Regions from separate parts of the Homo sapiens genome. Here region 1 is linked to region 2. Evidence: promoter capture Hi-C in 16 types of primary human blood cells and fetal thymus (Javierre and others, 2016). All regions are on one chromosome and are shown on one strand. The core of a region is centred on a gene start or on the middle of the fragment in contact, and the rest is flanking DNA. Distances in the headings are between cores, read along the strand shown.

What was found. Contacts are between HindIII fragments. The CHiCAGO score rates a contact against its expected background, and 5 or more counts as called.
Region 1: a fragment that was not itself captured here is called in contact with the fragment with the promoter of ADAMDEC1 in region 2 in 2 of 17 cell types (total B cells and naive B cells); the score reaches 6.1 in total B cells.

What each region holds. Positions count from the first base shown.
Region 1 is chr8:24,316,168-24,320,663 of GRCh38, forward strand. ADAM28 (ADAM metallopeptidase domain 28) reads left to right here. Exons shown (of 23, transcript NM_014265.6): 7 at 4,069-4,140. All of the region lies in intron 3 of ADAM7-AS1 (ADAM7, ADAMDEC1 and ADAM28 antisense RNA 1), which reads right to left. Among named protein-coding and RNA genes, the nearest start is that of ADAM28, 24 kb to the left of the region's middle. The HindIII fragment of the contact is 2,969 bases long and covers 1,533-4,496 here.
Region 2 is chr8:24,381,751-24,386,138 of GRCh38, forward strand. ADAMDEC1 (ADAM like decysin 1) reads left to right here and starts at 2,535. Exons shown (of 14, transcript NM_014479.3): 1 at 2,535-2,842. The coding sequence starts at 2,755. All of the region lies in intron 3 of ADAM7-AS1 (ADAM7, ADAMDEC1 and ADAM28 antisense RNA 1), which reads right to left. The HindIII fragment of the contact is 13,825 bases long and covers 1-4,388 here.

The DNA of each region.
Region 1 (4,496 bases), core at 1,767-4,266, 65 kb before region 2:
GTAAACATTCTATAGCAGCTAGGAACATGTTTTTCCAAAACCAAATAAAGTTTTTTACATGCCAGTTACATTTCAGAGATTTTGTCATTCTTATATTCTTCTTTCTTCATAAAAGTAAGTGCTTGCTCAAATATGTGGGCCTTCTACTGAAATTCATTTAATATATAACTTTTATCCTTGGCTTAGTTGGAATTCGAGTTTTGATAAGAAAGGTGTGGTTGAATGGACATAATCATAGGCTTTCAGCAACCACACAAATGTTGATAGTGTGCAATGCAGTTGTTGATGATTAAACAATAATGAAAATTTAAGAACACTGTTGCATTATTTTATTTGAAGCTGGAATGATGTGAAACTCTAAAATATGTCTCAGCCCAAGCATTAAGGTTTACCTGCCCACTCTTCTTTCTCCTTATTTATTTTTTAAATTAAAAGCCATTTATGGAAAGCCGCTGATAACATCATAATCAATCGGAAAGCAGAAATAGCCATTCTTCTGGTACCAGGCAAGGATGCCTACTCTTACCACTTCTATTAAACATGTACCAGAAGTACTATCAAAAGCATTTAGAAAAGACACATTCAACTTGGAAATGAAGAAGTAAAATTACCTCTATTTGCAGATGAAATGATTCTACCTGTAAAAAACCCTAATGACTCCACTGAAAAACCATTAACACTAACAAATAAGTTCAATAAAGTTGCAGGATATAAAATCAACATACAAAATCTGTGACATTTCTATACACGAATAACAACCTAGCCAAAAATGAAATCAAGAACACCATTCCATTTATAACATAAATAATACTTGGGAATAAATTTTACTAAGGAGGTGAAAGACCTGTATACCGAAGACAATAAAACATTAATGAAGGAAATTGAAGAAAATGCAAATAAATGAATATCCCATGCTCATGAATTAGAAGAATGTTGTTAAAATGTTCATACTACCTAAAGCAATGAGTAGATTCAATGCAGTCCTTATAAAAACCCCAATGACAGTATTTACAGAAATCAGAAAAAAATCATAAAATTTGTATGGAACCACAGAATATCCCAAATAGTCAAAGGAATTCTGAGAAAAAAAAAGACATCATACTACCTGATTTAAAGTTATATTACAAAGATATAGTAATCGAAAGAGTATAATGGCATAAAACCAGACACCTAGACCAGTGGATGAGAATAGCAATCTCGGAAATAAATCCAAACATATACGTTCAATTAATTTTTGACAAGGGCACCAAAAAGACACACTGGGGAAAGGATAGTCTCTTCAATAAATAGTGCTGGGAAAACTGGATATCCACATGCAAAATTATGAAATCGAACCCTTTTCTTATACCATAACTAAAATTCAAATCAAAATGAAAAAGAAACCTAAATGTAATACCTAAAACCATAAAACTCCTAAAAGAAAATAGAGGGGAAAAGCTGTTTGACATTAACCTTGACAATGACTTCTTAAATATCATACCTAAAAGCTAAGGTTATAAAAGTAAAATGTAAGAGACTATATCAAACGAAAAAGCTTCTGCACAGCAAAGCAAACAAACAAAATGAAAAGGAATCTAAAAAAGGGGGTGAGGGTGAGTGTCAAATATATAGAGGTAGAGAATAAAACAGTGGTTACCAGGGTCTAGGTAGGGACAGGAAATGGGGAGATTCGGGTCTAAGGATACCAAGTAGCCAAATATGCGGGGTTAAGCAGTTGAAAGATCTAGGGTACAATATGAGGACTGTTAAGGACAAAAAGTAGACAAATTTAACAGAGTTTAATTGAGCAAAGAAAGGTTTGAGAATCCAGCAGCCCTCAGAACCAGAAGATGTTGAGAGCAATTCCATGCTGGTCGTTGGTTGGAGAGGATTTATAGACAGAAAAATGACATACAGAAAAATGGATTAAGGTACAGAAACAGCTGCACCGGTTACAGCTTGATGTTTGCCTTACTTGAACACGGTTTGAACAGTTGGCCACCTTTGATTGGCCAGAAGTTGGTGAAACTCCTAGCTATATGTTGCTGTGAATATCAACTCCTGGGTTTGCTTGTACAGGGCCTCTTATCCCTCTGTTTCCATTCCTTGGTAACTACGTGGAAAGAGCTTTGCTTTTGAGACATTTTATCGTTTTGGCTTTCCTCTACCTCAGGAGTGCTACTCCTCATTTCATTTCTGTCACCCTTACTCTGATTGACTGGTAAATATTAGAGAACCTCACATAGCTCAATCCTGGATCTTTATCTATACATTCTTCCTAGGTAATCTTACCCTGCCCTGTGCCTTATTTAAATAGGAACTGTGCACTAATGGCCATCAGACGTTTATCTCTAGCCTCTGCCCCTCTCCTAAAGGCCAGACTGTTATAATTATCTTTTTAATATATCTACTCAAACACCTGATATCACAAACCTAAAATATGCCCCCAAAAGAACTACCAATTTCTAAACCACAAACAAAACCTACTTCTCTCTCATTCTCCCCATTTTACTTAACACTACCACCACTCATCATTTGTTCAAATTTGGATCTAGAAATTATCCTTGATTCTCTTTTTCTTCATCCCGCCTTATATGGTATCCATCAGCAAGTGCCTCCGACATATTTCAGATCTTTTACTTTGCTCCCTTTTCTGACTACCCCAAGGTGCCATCTCATAATAACCATGGCAACAGCCTCTGCCTGACCTGCCCATCCTCGTTCAGCAGAATCCACACTCCACACAATCAATCCAGTGCTATTTTTATTGTAAATCACATCACATCCGTTTTCTGCTCAAAGCCCTCCGATGTCTTCCCATTGCATTTAGTATAAAAGCCACACAACTGACCATGGGTCACAAACCCCTATACGATTGTGGTCCCATAGACCTCTCTGGTCTCCTCCTACTCTTTACTCCCCGTCTCTTGGTGACCTCCCCCATTATGTTATAAAAACACAAGCACTTTTTTTCTATGCTCTAAATATGCCAATACTATTTCACCTTGGAGTCTATTTACTCATTTTTTTTCCCTGCTGGAATTGTCTTCCAATTTCTCTTTCCTTGCCTGGCTTCTCATTTTCGTTAATACATCTGCTTGAGGGCCAGCTCTTTAGAGAATTTCACCTATTCTGAAATAACTACCTAGTAACTCAATGTCACATGCCCACTTTAATCCTTCACATAGTACTGGCCACCATCTGATATGTTTATGTTTGTCTCTTGGTCTCTCTGCTGATGGAGCTCACATGGTGATTTCACTACTGCATTTGCAGTTCCCAGAGCACTCTCAGTGTATTGTAAGTGCTAATAAATATTTCGTTCCCATGGAGGGTAGGAAGTAAGTACATGTCTCATCAGATAATACCTAAAAATCTATCTTCAGGAGTTTCTTCTTTGTAATCGAACTTTAGTTACCTATTAAAAGACATGCACTTCCAGAAATGCAATCTAATAAACTTTGATGAGCTATTATTTAGTAGGAATAATCTGTTGGTCCCTTTTCAATGAGTCAATCCACTATGTAACTTTTTTTTTTTTTGAGATAGAGAAAGGAACAGAACATTGGTAAGTTTGAAACATGGGAAGGAGATTCAACTCTGCCTGAAGAGAACAAAGTAGACTAGAAACAATGGTGTCTCTGCATTGCACCATTGATAACGGAGCATGTATTTCACCAGGATATGAATTAAAGGCTACCAAAGAAAACAAAAAAACAAACTGACTAAAAACACTAGGAGGATGCTGAAGTCAAACTTTCTCTATTTTGTGTCAGGATGGTGAAGAAGTCTACTGTTCAAAACAATAGAAAGACTGGTTTTATTTCTAGCTCCCCTATTGTAACATAATTTAGACCCCTTGATAAAAGGAAGGAATCAGACCAGAATATTGCTGGTGTCCCTTCACCTCCAAATTTATGAGCCTTGTCAGTAGATAATCCTGTCGGTTGAATTGGTGTTAAAATGCTAATATTGTCTGCCTTTACTCCAGATATCAACCAACTGCTTATAAAATTACAGATGTCAAATAATAGAAGAACTTTTGCAGAAAACAATATTGTATCAGTAATTCTACTCTTTATATTTCAGAAATTGAAAGACAGGAAGGTTCAGGAACATGAGAAATACATAGAATATTATTTGGTCCTGGATAATGGTGAGGTAATTATATGAGATAAATGTGCTGTCTTCCAAAACTCCCACCCACATATATTTATTTATTATGTGAGACATTAAATATCTGGATGAGATTTAAAGAATCATGAATATGAGCTATGGTTACATGTTCTTCTAAAACTATGAAATTTGACATTTATAATTAAGCTGATATGACTTCTTTTCAGAGCGATCAGGGCAATTGATATGATATGCATAAATTGTTGGCACTTATAACACTATTTTCTTATTGACTTAAGAGTACCCAACTTAGTTTCCAATTACATTCTTCTGTCATTTTGTCTTTTGTTAAGTTGTTAAATCATTTGTAAATTAAACTTTATTCTCATTAGGGAGTCAAT
Region 2 (4,388 bases), core at 1,285-3,784:
AAATATCAATCATAATACTTCATATTTGTACAGACTACCTGTTTGTGGTTGTGTCTCCATTATTAGACTTTATTGTGGGAATATGTGAATAGCAAGGACAGTATCAGTCAGCTTAGAATCCTTAGAAATGTAGTAGCAATTTATTAGAAACACAACTTTAATATGATTTCAATAAATATTCAACTGCCCTAGCAATACTAGTTGTATAATTAATAAGCAAATTAGTTCCCGCTAAATAGCCAGAAAGCAAAATTGTCCACAGCAATAATGGTCACCAAAAGATAGCCAAATCTCATCCAGTAGAGAAACTGCTGAATCAAGTGGTAGTTAGACTTTTAGCTCTTTATGGAATCTCCACACTGTTTTCCATAGTGGCTGTATTAGTTTCCATTCCAGCCAGCAGTGTAGAAGTGTTCCCTTTCACTGCATCCACACCAACATCATCTATGATTTTTTTATTTTTTATAATGGCCATTCTTATGTGAGTAAGGTGGTATTTCATTGTGTATTGCATGTTTATAGCAGCAAAATTTACAATTGCAAAAACGTGGAACCAGCCCAAATGCCCATCATTCAAAGAGTAGATAAAGAAACTGGTGTATATATGTATATACCACACACACATATATGATGTATACCATACATACATGCATATATACCATATATATGCACCACATATACACCATGTATTTGATGGAATACTACTCATTCATGAAAAGGAATGAATTAATGTCATTTGCAACAACCTGGATGGGATTGGAGACTATTATTCTAAGTGAGGTAACTCAGGAACAGAAAACTAAACACTGTATGTTCTCACTTATAAGTGGGAGCTAAGCTATGAGGATGTGAAGACATAAGAATGATACAATGGACTTTGGGGACTCAGGGGGAAAGGATGGGAAGCCAGTGAGGAATAAAAGACTACTAATTGGGTTCAGTGTATACTGCTCAGGTGACGGGTACACCAAAATCTCACAAATCACCACTAAAGAACTTACTCATGTAACCAAATACCACCTGTTCCCCAAAAACCTATAGAAATAATAAAAAAGAATATGTTTAATGAAGAATTAAAAAAAAAATAACTGATGCTAAAAGGACCTGCGAGCAAAGAAGGTGGTACACATGAATAATTTCAAACATCTGTAGAAAACACACACAAAAATAATGAGTAACATGGGGGTCAAAATCATGATAAACTAAAATACTTGACAACAACATGTAATGTGCTAAAGGGTAGGGCACTGATAAGAGTTCACCATTCCAGGATTCTTTTATTATTTGATGATAGAGACATAATTAGCATTATACTTTGTTAAAATATTAATGGCGGGTCATAAAGGATATAAGAAGGATGCCTATCTCTGGACCAGAAAAAGAAATGCAAAATTATAGAGAAAATGTTACTATTTTAAAGGAAGGTAGAACAGCAACAAAGTGAAGAATAGACATAGAGAGGGGATTTTTAAAGTTCCAATTAGATGTTAGGAAACTCCCAGATGTATCAGTGAAAAGTTAAGTTCAGCAGTTAGAAGGTATGGGTTTTTAGATTGGGAAAACTATACATAATGATTTAATTTGGCCCTAACTTTCTGAAAAGCACTGAGTCAATGTTTATCAATAATCTCAAGTTGATTTACCCTTTTTAGCTAAATAATAGCACTTCTAGACATTTATCCTGAAGTCACCAGAAATTCAATTAAAGAAATATACACAACCAAACATTACATGGACACTCAACACACACATATGTAGAAAATATGATATTCTAAAATCACTAAAATTATGTCTTAATATTCAATGTCATGAGAATGCTTATGTCATAGTGCCATGGAAAAAAAAATAAGTTTCTTAAACCCTTTGCCCAATAAGGTTAGCTTTCCTTTTCTGCATAAGAAGATGAAAATAAATTGTAAAAACGTTAACAGAAGTTATTTCTTGATGTCGGATCATTGGCAGTCAACTTTTTTCTCATAATAAACTTGTGATATTATAATCATGAAAATCTACCATATTTGTCAGAGAAACATTGTTATTGTATAAGGTAGAACTCAGAAAGTACACCTCGAACATACTTCATATGTTGTATAGTTCGGTTAAGGCCAGCACTGTCAAGGTTATTTAAATTTCTTGTACATTTCTTATACATGCACATTTCTTTACAATTTTACATGCATGTGCATATGTGTGTGTGCAAATGCATATGAATTTTATAAGAATCTTGAGGCAGTTAAAATTATCAGCATCCCCTGTTGACTCATTAGGAGACTGAATGTTAGAGAGATTTTCAGTATCTTGGTTTGTAGGACTTTACCTGGTGCTTTTTAGATTCTGTGTTCACTGTGACAGTATCTCAAAATATGTACAGAATACTGATATATGTCCTAAATATGTGGATTTATTTCTATAAGGATACTGAACAACAATCGTAATGGTCCAGTTTGGTGAGTATGTAGATATGCACGCGACCACCTCAGTCTCAGTTCACACATTCCCACTGCTTATAGGAGCACCAGGGGCAAACAGTGTCCAGATGTGAGTCCTCAATGAGCTATAACCACAGCCATAAATATCTCTCAAAGATGAGGAACATTCTCATGATGTTGACACTGCAATTTTTTGACAATTTCCCAACACTCTTAAGAAACATTCCCCAATCTCACACGAAAAGTGGGGGTTTTAATTTTCTTGTTCAACTTCTAAAGAGAAATTGGAGAAGATAAAACTGGACACTGGGGAGACCACAACTTCATGCTGCGTGGGATCTCCCAGCTACCTGCAGTGGCCACCATGTCTTGGGTCCTGCTGCCTGTACTTTGGCTCATTGTTCAAACTCAAGGTACGTACCATCACACCAGCATTTTACATAAAAGTCAAATTATTTGATGAATGTTTAAAGTGCCTTTTGAAAAAAAATGGCATATGTTTTTATGGTCGAAAGACCATTACCATTTGCATTTTGGTAGATTTTCTACCTCTCTGCAAAAGCGAACTATATATACATAAGTATGTGTATCTTTTTGAGTGAGGATATTTTAAACCACTATATGAAACATGGATTCTAAAATTTGTCCTATTTCCTCCAATTGTTATATATTTTAACAAATTTTATGTTTGCACAATATTTTCCAAAATAGAGGAAAAAAAAGCTACATATTGTTCCATTCATTATGTCTTTTCTCTACTAAATAAAATTTTATTAACATCTTCATGAATCATGGCTGTTTAAAAAATCTGCACTTTGGGATATTTCCTTGAGAAAAATTCTTAAAAGCAGAATGACAGGGTCAAAATGACTAGTTCTGGAAAAGGAACCCTTTTTGTCTTTGAGATTGATTATTGATATTATTGATAGATGAACCATTTTGATGACACACTATACACACCCTACAAATAATTTTCAAGTCACTGGTTATTTTACTAGTGATCACATAATAAGCATGTTAAAAGCCAAGCTGTAAACCTACGTATTTCCATGTATAAACACATTTGTGCTAAACCCTATATTGAAACAGGTAAAGTACATAGCTGAGGAGTTATCCAAGCTCCCCACAAAATTCCCACTTGCCTAAAAGTTGCCGTGCAAAAGCTGCACACATACGGCTGGCTCTAGCCTTCATATTCTTTTACATTTCCTCATTGTGCATCACCAATACTATACCCAAAAGAAGGATAAAATGGAGTAATTATTATACCAATAATTATGCGATATATACACACAGCTTACTGAAGTCTTCAAATTCAATTATTTGATCCATATAAACATATAAAGACAGGCTTATAGTCAACACTTTGTAATTTGCATAATGATTTAGTAAGGATGTCTCTGGAACTGTATTTCTTATTTAATAACTCTACTAGATCTATTTTCTTTTCTAAAACACACCATCCCAATGACAACACAGAACTAACTTCCTGGCCAAAAATCAAATCCATGTATTTAAGACAACTTCCGAATCATAGCTCTGCTAGGATGAAAGACAGAGAAGAGTTTAAAATAGAATGAGGGCTAAATCATATATAACTGCATTATTAAACAAAAATCAGATGTAATACATTATAATTGCATTATTAAACAAAAGAAAACATTAATTGACCAACTGAACAACTGTGCCTGTGCTGTCGGATGAGAATTAATTGTACCTAAAGAGAAGTCAAACAACATGTAATGAAATAGAACTTGATTGAAATAAAAAAAAAAATCTACATATCTTTTTTCCCCCCATTCCTCAGAGGTCTCAAAATACTCATAGATACATTTCTAGAAAAGTGAAACTTGTTTCTATTAATATTGTTCTCACAATATTCTGCTGAAAAAGTCACTGAAATACTTCTGAATTTGATGATAGTCTATGATGCCCATAGTGCCCAAGTAGCCCTACATT